3 separate regions of the Homo sapiens genome follow, and all the other regions are linked to region 2. The links are contacts of gene promoters, found by promoter capture Hi-C in blood cells and fetal thymus (Javierre and others, 2016). All regions are on one chromosome and are shown on one strand. The core of a region is centred on a gene start or on the middle of the fragment in contact, and the rest is flanking DNA. Distances in the headings are between cores, read along the strand shown.

What was found. Contacts are between HindIII fragments. The CHiCAGO score rates a contact against its expected background, and 5 or more counts as called.
Region 1: a contact is called between the fragment with the promoter of ENTPD8 here and the fragment with the promoter of DPP7 in region 2, in 3 of 17 cell types (non-activated CD4 T cells, erythroblasts and M1 macrophages). The highest score is 6.6, in non-activated CD4 T cells.
Region 3: the fragment with the promoter of LCN6 here is called in contact with the fragment with the promoter of DPP7 in region 2 in 4 of 17 cell types (neutrophils, endothelial precursors, monocytes and 1 more); the score reaches 7.8 in neutrophils.

Annotation. Positions count from the first base shown.
Region 1 is chr9:137,438,847-137,442,606 of GRCh38, forward strand. ENTPD8 (ectonucleoside triphosphate diphosphohydrolase 8) reads right to left here and starts at 2,511. Exons shown (of 10, transcript NM_001033113.2): 1 at 2,440-2,511. RefSeq lists a silencer at 2,371-2,665. The HindIII fragment of the contact is 13,084 bases long and covers 1-3,332 here.
Region 2 is chr9:137,112,429-137,116,181 of GRCh38, forward strand. DPP7 (dipeptidyl peptidase 7) reads right to left here and starts at 2,305. Exons shown (of 13, transcript NM_013379.3): 1 at 2,219-2,305; 2 at 2,035-2,148; 3 at 1,815-1,954; 4 at 1,437-1,600; 5 at 933-1,068; 6 at 778-859; 7 at 525-691; 8 at 317-377. The coding sequence starts at 2,285. It overlaps LOC124902314 (a long non-coding RNA gene), which reads left to right and starts at 2,371. Exons shown (of 2, transcript XR_007061874.1): 1 at 2,371-3,753. RefSeq lists silencers at 2,001-2,150, 2,181-2,530. The HindIII fragment of the contact is 32,578 bases long and covers 1-3,753 here.
Region 3 is chr9:136,746,840-136,750,531 of GRCh38, forward strand. It overlaps LCN6 (lipocalin 6), which reads right to left and starts at 1,686. Exons shown (of 7, transcript NM_198946.3): 1 at 1,555-1,686; 2 at 585-724. The coding sequence starts at 1,644. It overlaps LOC100128593 (a long non-coding RNA gene), which reads left to right. Exons shown (of 3, transcript NR_033913.1): 2 at 239-1,733; 3 at 1,907-3,072. It overlaps MIR6722 (microRNA 6722), which reads right to left and starts at 131; the gene lies at 54-131. The HindIII fragment of the contact is 9,973 bases long and covers 1-3,692 here.

The sequences.
Region 1 (3,760 bases), core at 1,261-3,760, 330 kb after region 2:
CGGAGCTGCCCCCACCATGTGATGGGGCCACCCTGTGTCCCCACCCCTCGGTCCTGCCTCTCCCGTGCCACCCTCCCCAGGAGCAGCCACAGCTCCAGCCTGCACTGGGGGCCCAGGGCTCTGCCTCCTCTCTGCGGCCCCCACCCCAGGCACTCCTAGGGTGGGGGTTTCTCTCTGGAGCCCTGAGGGGACTGTTGCCGAGGGGCTGTGGGTGAACCCAGGGTGAGGCCAGCCATCCTAGGAAGCCGAGTGTGAGGCTTCTTAACAACATCGGTTTCTCTGGAAATCCAGCCCAAGGCTTCCCTAATCTGACTCTGCACCTTCTTAGCTGGTGCCAGATGGCGCCTGGTCGGGAGGTGGACCCAGGGATGCCATCTGAGGGGCCTGGGCTTCTCTAGCCCTGTGGCCGAGGTGTCCACCTCCTCCTCTGCCCAAACGCCCAGCAAGGGTCTCAGCTCTCAAACTACCCCAGGCCGACCCTGTGCCCCATACAGCCCCACTTCACACGGGTACCACTGCCAAAGGAGTGGTCAAAGCCAGAGGCTGCCTGCCAAGGTCCCGGCACCTGAACCCCATGTGACCGTGTCCTATCGTGTTCCCCCGGGAAACGTTGCACCCACACTGAGTGGCAGGCGCGGGTGCTGCCCTGGTCCTGACCTGGGGCTCCTGGGCACGTGGAAAGTGGGACACGCTGTGGGGTCCTCACGCAATTCTGTATGTCCGGGGGATATAAGCCCATTTTAAGGAGGGTAGATGACAGAGGCTCAGAGAGGACAGGAGGCCGGTCCAGCCCAGACAGGGCCCAGCCTGTGTCCCCAACCAGCACCCAGGCCATAGGCCACCTCATAGGGACAAACAGGTGACAGGGGCCAGGAACACAGGGACTCCACACCCAGAAGATGTAGCCACCTGAGACCCCCAGGCCTGAGCCTCCAGGTAGGCAAAGAGGTTGGGGCAACCTCTCCCACACTCAAAAGACCCCCAAGACCAGAACAGCCTCCCAGATCAGAACAGCTCCTCAGACCAGGAAAGCGCCCCCCAGACCAGAACAGCCCCCCCGAGACCAGGACAGTGCCCCCAGACCAGGAGAGCCCCCCAGACCAGGACACCCCCTCAGACAGAACAGTCCCCCAGACCAGGACAGCCCCCCAGACCAGGACAGCCCCCCCCAGACCAGGAGAGCCCCCCAGACCAGGACACCCCCTCAGACAGAACAGTCCCCCAGACCAGGACAGCCCCCCCAGACCAGGACAGCCCCCCAGACCAGGACAGCCCCCCCAGACCAGGACAGCCCCCCCAGACCAGGAGAGTCCCCCAGGCCAGGACATCCCCTCACACAGAACAGTCCCTGAGACCAGGACAGCCCCCCCAGACCAGGACACCCCCTCACACAGAACAGACTCCCAGATCAGGACAGCCCCCCAGACCAGGACAGCCCCCCAGACCAGGACAGCCCCCGCCAGACCAGGACAGCCCCCCCCAGACCAGGAGAGCCCCCCAGACCAGGACACCCCCTCACACAGAACAGATTCCCAGACCAGGACAGCCCCCAGACCAGGACAGCCCCCCCCAGACCAGGACAGCCCCCCAGACCAGGACAGCCCCCCCCCAGACCAGGAGAGCCCCCCAGGCCAGGACACCCCCTCAGACAGAACAGTCCCCCAGACCAGGACAGCCCCCCAGACCAGGACAGCCCCCCCCAGACCAGGAGAGCCCCCCAGACCAGGACACCCCCTCAGACAGAACAGTCCCCCAGACCAGGACAGCCCCCCCAGACCAGGACAGCCCCCCAGACCAGGACAGCCCCCCCAGACCAGGACAGCCCCCCAGACCAGGACAGCCCCCCCCAGACCAGGACAGCCCCCCCAGACCAGGACAGCCCCCCAGACCAGGACAGCCCCCCCAGACCAGGACACCCCCTCAGACAGAACAGTCCCCCAGACCAGGACAGCCCCCCCAGACCAGGACAGCCCCCCAGACCAGGACAGCCCCCCCAGACCAGGACAGCCCCCCAGACCAGGACAGCCCCCCCCAGACCAGGACAGCCCCCCAGACCAGGACAGCCCCCCAGACCAGGACAGCCCCCCCAGACCAGGACACCCCCTCAGACAGAACAGTCCCCCAGACCAGGACAGCCCCCCCAGACCAGGACAGCCCCCCAGACCAGGACAGCCCCCCCAGACCAGGACAGCCCCCCAGACCAGGACAGCCCCCCAGACCAGGACAGCCCCCCAGACCAGGACAGCCCCCCCAGACCAGGACACCCCCTCAGACAGAACAGTCCCCCAGACCAGGACAGCCCCCCCAGACCAGGACAGCCCCCCAGACCAGGACAGCCCCCCCAGACCAGGACAGCCCCCCAGACCAGGACAGCCCCCCAGACCAGGACAGCCCCCCAGACCAGGACAGCCCCCCCAGGACATCCCTTTGGACCCTCACCTGGGCTGGCTGCCCACTTCCCGGAGCGGCAAGGAGGAAGCTGTGCTTAGACGCTTCTGTGTCCGCGCACCTGGCGTCCAGCCTCTCCCTGCCCCTGGGTCCAGGACAGCTGGGGTGGGCGGGGCAGGGCGGTGACAGCCTCGGGCGATGCGCTGTGCACCTGGCTCCAGGGCCCGCAGGCTGAGGCCAGCGCCCAAGGTCGCCCCGCCCACTCCACCCTCGGGTCCCCCGCCCAGGGTCTCCCCGCATCTCCCACCCGCGGGTCTGTCTCGGTGCCCAGGGTCGCCCCGCCCCCGGGGGGGTGGGAGGCAGGAGAGGGAAGCTGAGGAGGAGCCTGGAGCTGCGAGGGGCAGAACTCCGGGACCCCGCCCCCCACGGCCCGCAGCCGCGCTCCTGACCCCGGCCCGGACTTTACCCCCCGTGCCGCCCGGCCCGGGCAGGTCGGAGTCAGGTGACCCCGAAGGTCCAGGCCCGGGGCGGGGGCGGAAGCGCCTGCAGCCCCGCGGCGCCCGTCGTTTTCCATTTGCAGCCACTCTGCCTTTCCCGCTCGCCGTGGGTCCCGGGGCCGCCGCCGTCGGGGTCCGGGCCTCTGAAGCGGGGCGGGGCTGGGGGAGGCGCGGAGCCAGGGCCGGGCTGGGTGGGGCTGGGGGTGTTGGGGGGCGGGGAATAGGGTGGGGGAATGCGGGGGGGCGGTGAATTCCTTTCTGTGTGAGATCCAAGAACCCTCTTGGGGTCTCAATCGGGACTCTCTTTACTGGTAGCATATTTGGTGTCATGTGTGTGCATTTTTGTGCTTTTTCTTGGTGATTTCACTGTTTATAATGGCGTCTCAGCATAGTGCAGAAATGCAAGAAGGCTGAGATGCACTTTACAGAGAAAACACACATTGGATAAGCTTCATTCGTGCAAGAGTTAGCGCTGTTGGCCATGAGTTCAATGTTAGTGATACAATACATATTAAGTAAGGTGCCCTTAAACAAAAATACACATAAAAGAAGGTTTTATTAATATATTGATCATTTAACAAAAATGTGACCAGAAGCTTGCAGGAACAGAACTTTGCATTTCCCTTAGGAGCAATAGTTTAGCATATTCTTTAATTCAGTGTTTGCAGCAACTTTATACACTAGCTGCCATGGGTCATAAGAGTCAAATGTGTTTGTTGAGGATTTTTGCAGTTGTGTTCAACAAAGTTGCATAGTTTTCTTTTTTAGTCCTGGTTTCTGTATGGGGATAATGCTGGGCTTATAAAATGAGTCTGGGAAGTTGTCCTTTTTTTTTTTTTTTTTTGAGATGGAGTCTCGCTCTGTCACCCAGGCTA
Region 2 (3,753 bases), core at 1,055-3,554:
GAGGGCCCCCCCGCTCTCCACGGGGCAGGGTGGGGCCTGCTGCCCTCTGTTGCCCTCCATGCTGGGGACCCCAGGGGCCCCTTGGGCAGCACCCACCAAGCTGGGCCTGGCTACAGCCAGTGCTGAGAGGGTCCCCAGGGACGGCCCCTGCCTCCCCCAGGGTTTCTGGGAAGGTCGTGCTGTCCACCCCACCACAGCCCTGGGGCAGGAGGCAAAGCCCCTGGCCGGGCTGCGGATCCTCGCCCCACCCGGCCCCAGGACCCAAGCCAAGCCTGGGGTCTCCACACTTGCCCATCTGGGGCCGGGGGAAGGGCACCTGCCAGTGCTCGCAGCCCCGTGATCCTCTGGGCCTCACTCAGCAGCCGATCACAGCCCACCTGGAGTGCAGGGGCAGCGGCGACTCAGCGGGGTCCCCTCCACCAGCTCCGCCTCCCTGGCTCCCAGGATGAGGGTCAGGCCGCTGACCACCAGCCTCGGGACACTCCAGCCGGCCTCTCCCTGCGCCCTGGGAGGCGGCGCCTCACCTTGACGGGGTTGGCAGGGAGGGGACCCAGGAAGTCAGTGGGGTAGGGGTAGTCCATCATGGCCAGCACGGTGAAGGCATTCCGGGCGAACATGAAGAGCTGGGTCAGGTCCTTCTCGTCTGACAGCGGCTGGCAGGTGCCGAACTCCCAGCGGACCGTGTCGTAGGCTGCGTGGAAGGGGCAGAGACTTGAAGTTTGGGCATAGCTGGCGCTGGGGCGGGTCAGGCAGTGGGAGGCGGTGGGAGGACCTCACCTCCCTGTAGGAACAAGTCCTTGATCTGTCGGAACGCTTCCCGCACACCCTGGGTGCATTTGGGACTCTGGCCCTCAAAGTCCTGGGGGAAAGAGACCGTGCTGACTGCAGCTGCTGTCCCTTAGGGGGCCTGGAGGACCCCAAGCCTCACTCACCGCCGTGACGTCCCGGAAGAACTGGTTGGAGTCGCCGAGGCCTGCCACAGCTAGAACGGGCGCGCTGGCCGCCAGCGCCCCCGCCACCAGGTGGGGATACTTCATCCTCAGGTAGGCACTGAGCATCCCCCCATAACTGGGTGAGGGACACAGGGTTAGGGCTGCTGCCCCCAACACCCCATTTCCTCTTTTCCTCCTCAGGGGCCCACAGGTGCCACAAGGAGGACGACACTTCTGAGACCCACAAATTCCAACCCTGGGCCAGGTGCGGGTGCAGCTCTCACTGGGAAAGGCCGCTAGTGTGGCCGCACATCCAAGCTGAGCAGGTGGCTGGGAGGACAGGTGGGAGGGCTTCCTGGGGGAGGCAACACTAAGCCTGGAACCACTGCCTGAGGCCTTACGAAAAGGCAGCGGTGGGAGTCAGAGGGGAGTGGGGAGAAGGGCTGGGGGCGCTGGGTCGGGGCAGGGGAGGGAGGGGGTGCGGAGGCCGGGGGAGGCGCCCACCTTCCACCGAAGGCGATGGCGGGGGCATCCTGGGCCCCGAGGTCGCGTCGTAGCGCGCGGAGCAGCTCTGCGAAGTCGGCCAGGGCCTGCTCCACCGTCAGCAGCTCCGTGTGCCCGCGCTGCGTGGACTGCGCACCGAACGGCAGCGACTTCCCGTAGTAGCGCTGGGGGAACGTGCCATTGAGCCCGGCCCCGCGACCCCGCCCGGCACCCGCGTGCCCCGCGACCCCCGCCCGCGACCCCGCCCGGCACCCGCGTGCCCCGCGACCCCCGCCCGCGACCCCGCCCGGCACCCGCGTGCCCCGCGACCCCCGCCCGCGACCCCGCCCGGCACCCACGTGCCCCGCGACCCCGCCCGCGACCCCGCCCGGCACCCACGTGCTCCGCGAAGACCAGTAGAGCCCCCCGCTCGGCCGCCAGCTCCGCGACGAAGGCCGAGTTGTTGGCGAAGGCCCACACGTCGCCCTCGTTCCCAGTGTAGAAGAAGATGGGCCCCTCGCCCCGGACCCAGAACCTGTCTGTGGGGAGGGCGGATGAGGCGAGGGTGCCGGGGGGCGGCGGGACGGCGGGGGCGGCCGGGCCGGGGCCGGGGTCTCACCCGACACCAGGAAGCGCTGAGGGAAGGTCTTGTTGCCGAAGCGCTCGAAGTTGAAGTGGTCCAGACGCTGCTGGAAGAAGCGCTCCTGGAAGCCGGGGTCCGGGGCCCTGCGGGCTGTGGGGGGACGCGAACCTCAGAGGCGGGGCCGGGACCGGGGAATGGGCCGGGGGGCGCCGCCACTCACCCCCCGCCTGGAGGCCGCGCAGCCCGAGCGCCAGCAGCAGGACCGGGGCCCAGGGAGCGGAGCCCATGTCGCCTTCCGCGGGCGCCCGTCACGTGGGCGGGGTCACGGGGCCGCCAGGGCGCGCTCCTCCCTCCAGGCCCCACGTGTTTCGGGCGCCCGCGGTCCCCACGGAGACCGTCGCTGCTTCAGCGCCGCGCCGGGGCTGTGCCCCCCAACACCCCGCGCCCCGCGGCCGCTGCCCAGGGGTCCTTCCCGGGCACGGCGCGGGGAAGCAGAGGGCCCCCGGGCCATCTCCGCGGCCTCCCGCCCCACTGGCTCGTCCTCCTACCGCGGCCCCATCCGGAGCTGCGCTAGGGCGAGTCCCTGCTGCGCCCGCCAAGCCTCCCCAGCACTTGCTCCTGGCAGGTGCCCCACTCCAAGGCAGGGCCGGGAGAGTGGGGGCCGTTCTGCTGCCCTAAGGGCGGGAGGGAGAGGGTCCCAAACAGAGTGCTGGCCCCCCGAAGAAAGCAACCCAGGGTTTGTCCAAGCGATAACGGGCTGGGCTTGGCGGGGCGGGGCCTCGCAGCGGGCAGGAGTGTGGGGTGCCCCTGGAGCGTCTGGGCAGGGCCGGGATGTGGCCGGGTAGCTCCCAAGAGCTGGGAATCGCCACCTGCCCTTCCGACTGGCACCCAGTGTGCCCACACAGCCCTGCAGGGACAAGGGGGGACCAGAGGCCTCTGCTGGGAGCTGGGGCCTCCTCCCTGGGGAGCACCCAGAGGATGGAAGAAGTCACCTTTCCCCAGCGTCCAGTTCAGGGAGTGGGTGAGGGGGCCGTAGTGGTGGGTGCCAGACTAGCTACGTGGAGTCCTGCTGGGGATGTACATGGGCCGCTAGCCAGGCCCAGAACAGGTGCAGGGGCAGCAGGGGCTCAGCTACAGAGAGTTACCCTGTCCTTCTCCCAAGACTACCCTCGGCCAGCATGACCCTGCCCTGCCCATCCTGTGTGGGGCTGAGCGGAGAAGACCGGCCACTTCCACAGCCCCTCACGCCATGGCCCTCCCGTGCCTCACACAGAGGCACCCCCCATGGTGGGTGACTGGTGGCTGGGGCCCTCAGCATGGTGGCAGTGACCATCACGTCACACTGCAACACGAGGTCATCCAGGGCCACACACCGTCCCCACCACGGCCCTCACATCTGGGCCCTGTCCCATCCCTACGCAGTTCCTGGGGCTGCCTGCCGGGGCCCCCGCAGGACGGGGGTGAGGACAAACAGCAGACCTCCTTGGATGTGGAGGTACCCCACGGCGTCCCCCACCCCACACCTCTGCTCCTTTGGCTCCCTCGGGTGCCTTAGGTGGCCAGAACTCCACCAGCAACCCTCACCCAGGACCGCAGCTCTGGAGACGCCAGCTAGGCCGAGAGCTGGCCAGCTCCCCAAGCACACCAGAGCCTGGAGACGCTCCAGGCTTGGCTGGGCCCACAGAGGGGCCAGAGCCTCAGGGAGGGCTCCAGGAGCAGGGTTTCCAAGGAAGCCACTTTCCCTCTTGTCCACGG
Region 3 (3,692 bases), core at 436-2,935, 370 kb before region 2:
ACGGCTACCCCCACAGCCCGGCTGCCCTGTAGGTGTCCCCTGTGTAGCACGGCCGCCCCACAGCCTGGCCCACCCGACCCCTGCACGCCGCCACCAGCCATGCATGTGGTCGGGTGCGCCTGCCTGAGGCCACAAGGCCAGTCTGGCCAACAGCGTCCATGACCATATTGTTTGGGGATTTATGTTATGAAAGAACCAGTGGTTCTTAGGTCCGAATGCATTATCCTCCTTTAAACAGAATTCCCGAAAAAGGCCTGCTGAGAGGACAGGCTTCCCCAGCTCTGACCACAGCCTGCAGCCCAGATGACCCAGGACAGGGATGCATGAAGGAGCATAGTCAGAGCAGTGCCCGCCGCGGTATTGAAGGTGGGAGTGCCACCTGGAGGCCCCAGGGACACAGATGTGAGTAGCTGGGCAGAGGGCTGGTGGCTCTGCACAGAGCCCAGTGGGAAAAGTGACGGGGGTGCAGAGGGGCCGTGGGAAGCCCCCAGGCCGCGGTGCCCGGGAGCAGATGTGCAAAGTACATGATGTGGCTGAGCCACAGTCCTGCCTGCGGGAAGGCCTGGCAGGACCCGCCCACTCACCCGTGCTGAGAGGACAGCGTCCGCAGGTTGTTTTCTGGAGTGAGGGTCACCACCACCCCCACGACGTTCTTCATGTCCTTCTCCATGGCAAAGCCCTTTTCCCGGGAGGCCACCGCAAGCACGTACCAGGGCCCAAGAAGCTGCATTGAGGCGGCTCCCGTTAGGGCCGCCAGCCCTCCAGCCTCCAGCCTCCAGCCTCCAACCCTCCAGCCTCAGCCTCCAGCCTCCAAACCTCCAGCCTCAGCCTCCACCCTCCAACCATCCAGCCCTCCAGCCTCCAGCCTCCAACCCTCCAGCCTCCAGCCTTCCAGCCCTGCAGCCTCCAGCCTCCACCCTCCAACCATCCAGCCCTCCAGCCTCCAGTCTCCAACCCTCCCGCCCTCCAGCCTCCAACCTTCCAGCCTTGCAGCCTCTAGCCTTCAGTTCTCCAGCCCTCCAGCCTCCAGCTTCCAACCCCCCAGACCTCCAACCCTCCAGCCTCCAGCCTTCCAGCCCTACAGCCTCTAGGCTCCAGCCCTCCAGCCTTCCAACCTCCAGCCTGCAGCCCTGCAGCCTCTAGTCTCCAGCTCTCCAGCCCTCCAGCCTCCAGTTCTGCAGCCCTCCAGCCTCCAGCCCTCCAGCCTCCAGTTCTACAGCCCTCCAGCCTCCAGCCCAGCAGCCTCCAGCCTCCAGTTCTCCAGCCCTACAGCCTCCAGCCCTCCAGCCTCCAGTTCTCCAACCCTACACCCTCCAGCCCTGCAACCTCCAGTCTCCAGCCTCCAATTCTCCAGCCCTCCAGCCTCCAACCCTCCAGCATCCACCCCTCCTGCCCTGAGGCTCCTGCCTGTGGGACTCCCCAAGGGCTGGCCCAACTAATTCCCCACTGCTCATGCTGGTCTGGGCTAGCCCTGGGGGGCCCAGAAGCTGTGTGGCCTTAAAGGAGGGGCTGGCCCCCGAGGACCAGCTCTCCCCACCCCCAGGAGGACTGTACCTGCTCAGGGTCCAGTCTTCCCAACCACACGGCCTGGGCCCTGGGCACCGAGACCAAAGCCAGAAAAGCAGCCAGCAGCAGGCCGCCCATCCTCCCAGGTCTACACTGCGCCGCAGGCCCAGGATGTGCAGTCCCTCCAGGCCCTGGAGACCCGTTTATATGGCTCTGAATTTCTCCGTGTGGGTGGCACTAACTGCCAGGAACCCTCCTGGCCTCCTGCAAAATTACCCAGGGGAGCACTGAGCAGTGGCAGCCTCTGAGCCCAGATCAGACCAGCTGCACAGCCAGGAGAGGGTCTGGAGTGTGTGGATCAACCATACTATACTGATCCCCTGCTTTCTTCCACCAGAAGGTTCCAGAATGGGCATCCTAAAGCCAGCCGCACCACCTCCCCCGTTCCTGGGGACCCACGCTCTCCCTCGCCCAGCCTGGGAAGCAGGGAGACTGCTGTCCGCTGCCAGGCCCGGCAGGAGGCCAAGGTCAAGCCCAAGGAGAGGAACCAGGGCGAGAACAAGTGGTTCTCAGGAACTGCGGTTTTGGATATCTTTTGTTTCAATCATTAAATATAAAAAGTCCCTGAAAGCCTTTTGAAAAAGGCTCCCACCTCCTCCTGGCCCACCCACCATTCTGCTTTGTGGCCTGGCCTCTGTCCCCCACAGCCAGCACCCCCAGAACAGACTGTCCTGTTCCTTCCACCTCTGCAGCCCACCATCCGGCCCTGCTGCCTCCTGCCTCCCCTCCCTGGGACCCTGGCCTGCTTGTGCCTCCCAAGGCCCCTTGAGAGCTCTCTGCAGCCCCAGTCCGGGAGCAGAGGACAGAGGTGCTCGGCAGGGTCTATCTGAGCCCCTGAAGCCCACTGGGAGGCAGCCGGGAGGGTCCTCCCCCAGTGCCGTGGCCTGCACCCTCTGGGATTCACTCCCACACACCTTCGCTCATTCATCAACAAGGGTGCAAGGAGCACGTCCATGCAACAAGGCTCCAGTGCCCAGGGCCGCCTGCACTCACAGAGCTTATGCTGCAGCCCTGGCCACCTGCCCTGTACCCACGCAGCAGGGCCTGTGACCACCAGAGTGCAGGAGGAAGGCAGAAACCACACAGCTACTGGGGGCTGGGCCTGCGAAGACTGACCGGGCAGTGGGGCCACGGAGGTGCCAGCCACAGCCATGGCAAGCAGGAGTTGCCCAGGGGCTGAGCCACAGAACAAGGGAGCGGGACACTTAGGCCTGGAGCCTTCAGGAGGGAGCCGTGGCTGCTCGCGGTAATCCCAGCACTTCAGGAGGCTGAGGCGGGAGGATCACTTGAGTCCAGGAGTTTGAGACCAGCCTGGGCGACATAGCAAGACTTCGTCTCTACAAGCAAGTTTAAAAATTAGCTGGACATGGTGGCGTGCTCCTGTAGTCCCAGCTACTCAGGAAGCTGAGGTAGGAGGATTGCTTGAGCCCAGGAGGTTGAGGCTGCAGTGAGCTGTGATCGTGCCACTCCTCTCCAGCCTGGGTGATGGAGCAAGACCCCATCTCTAAAATAAAATAAAAATACAAAAAGGAGGAAGCCGAGCAGCTGGGCCAGGCCTCTGAGAAGGAAACACCTGCCAGCCCCACTAGTGTCCCTAAGGGCTGCGGGGAGCCTGGTTCTCGAGGCAGCCACAAAACAGCACGCTACATCAGCCGGGTGTGGTGGCTCATGCCTATAATCCCAGCACTTTGGGAGGCCGAGGCGGGCAGATCACCTGAGGTCAGGAGTTCGAGACCAGCCTGGCCAACTTAGTGAAACCCCATCTCTAGTAAAAGTACAAAAATTAGCCGGGCGTGGTGGTGGCGCAAGCCTGTAATCCCAGCTACTCGGGAGGCGGAGGCAGGAGAATCGCTTGAACCCGGGAGGCAGAGGTTGCAGTGAGCCGAGATTGCGCCACTGCACTCCAGCCTGGGTGACAGAGTGAGTAAGACTCCGTCTCAAAAAACAAACAAACACACAAACAAACAAACAAACAAAAACAAAGGATAAACCTCAGAGTCTAATGAGACTAGTTCCCTGCTGGGGTGGGGAGCTGGAACAGGGTGGGGGGATGAAGTTAGACTTTTTTGAGTAAACGTTTTTGTATAGTTTTGACTTTGGAATCAAAGTAATTTGGTATGTTATAC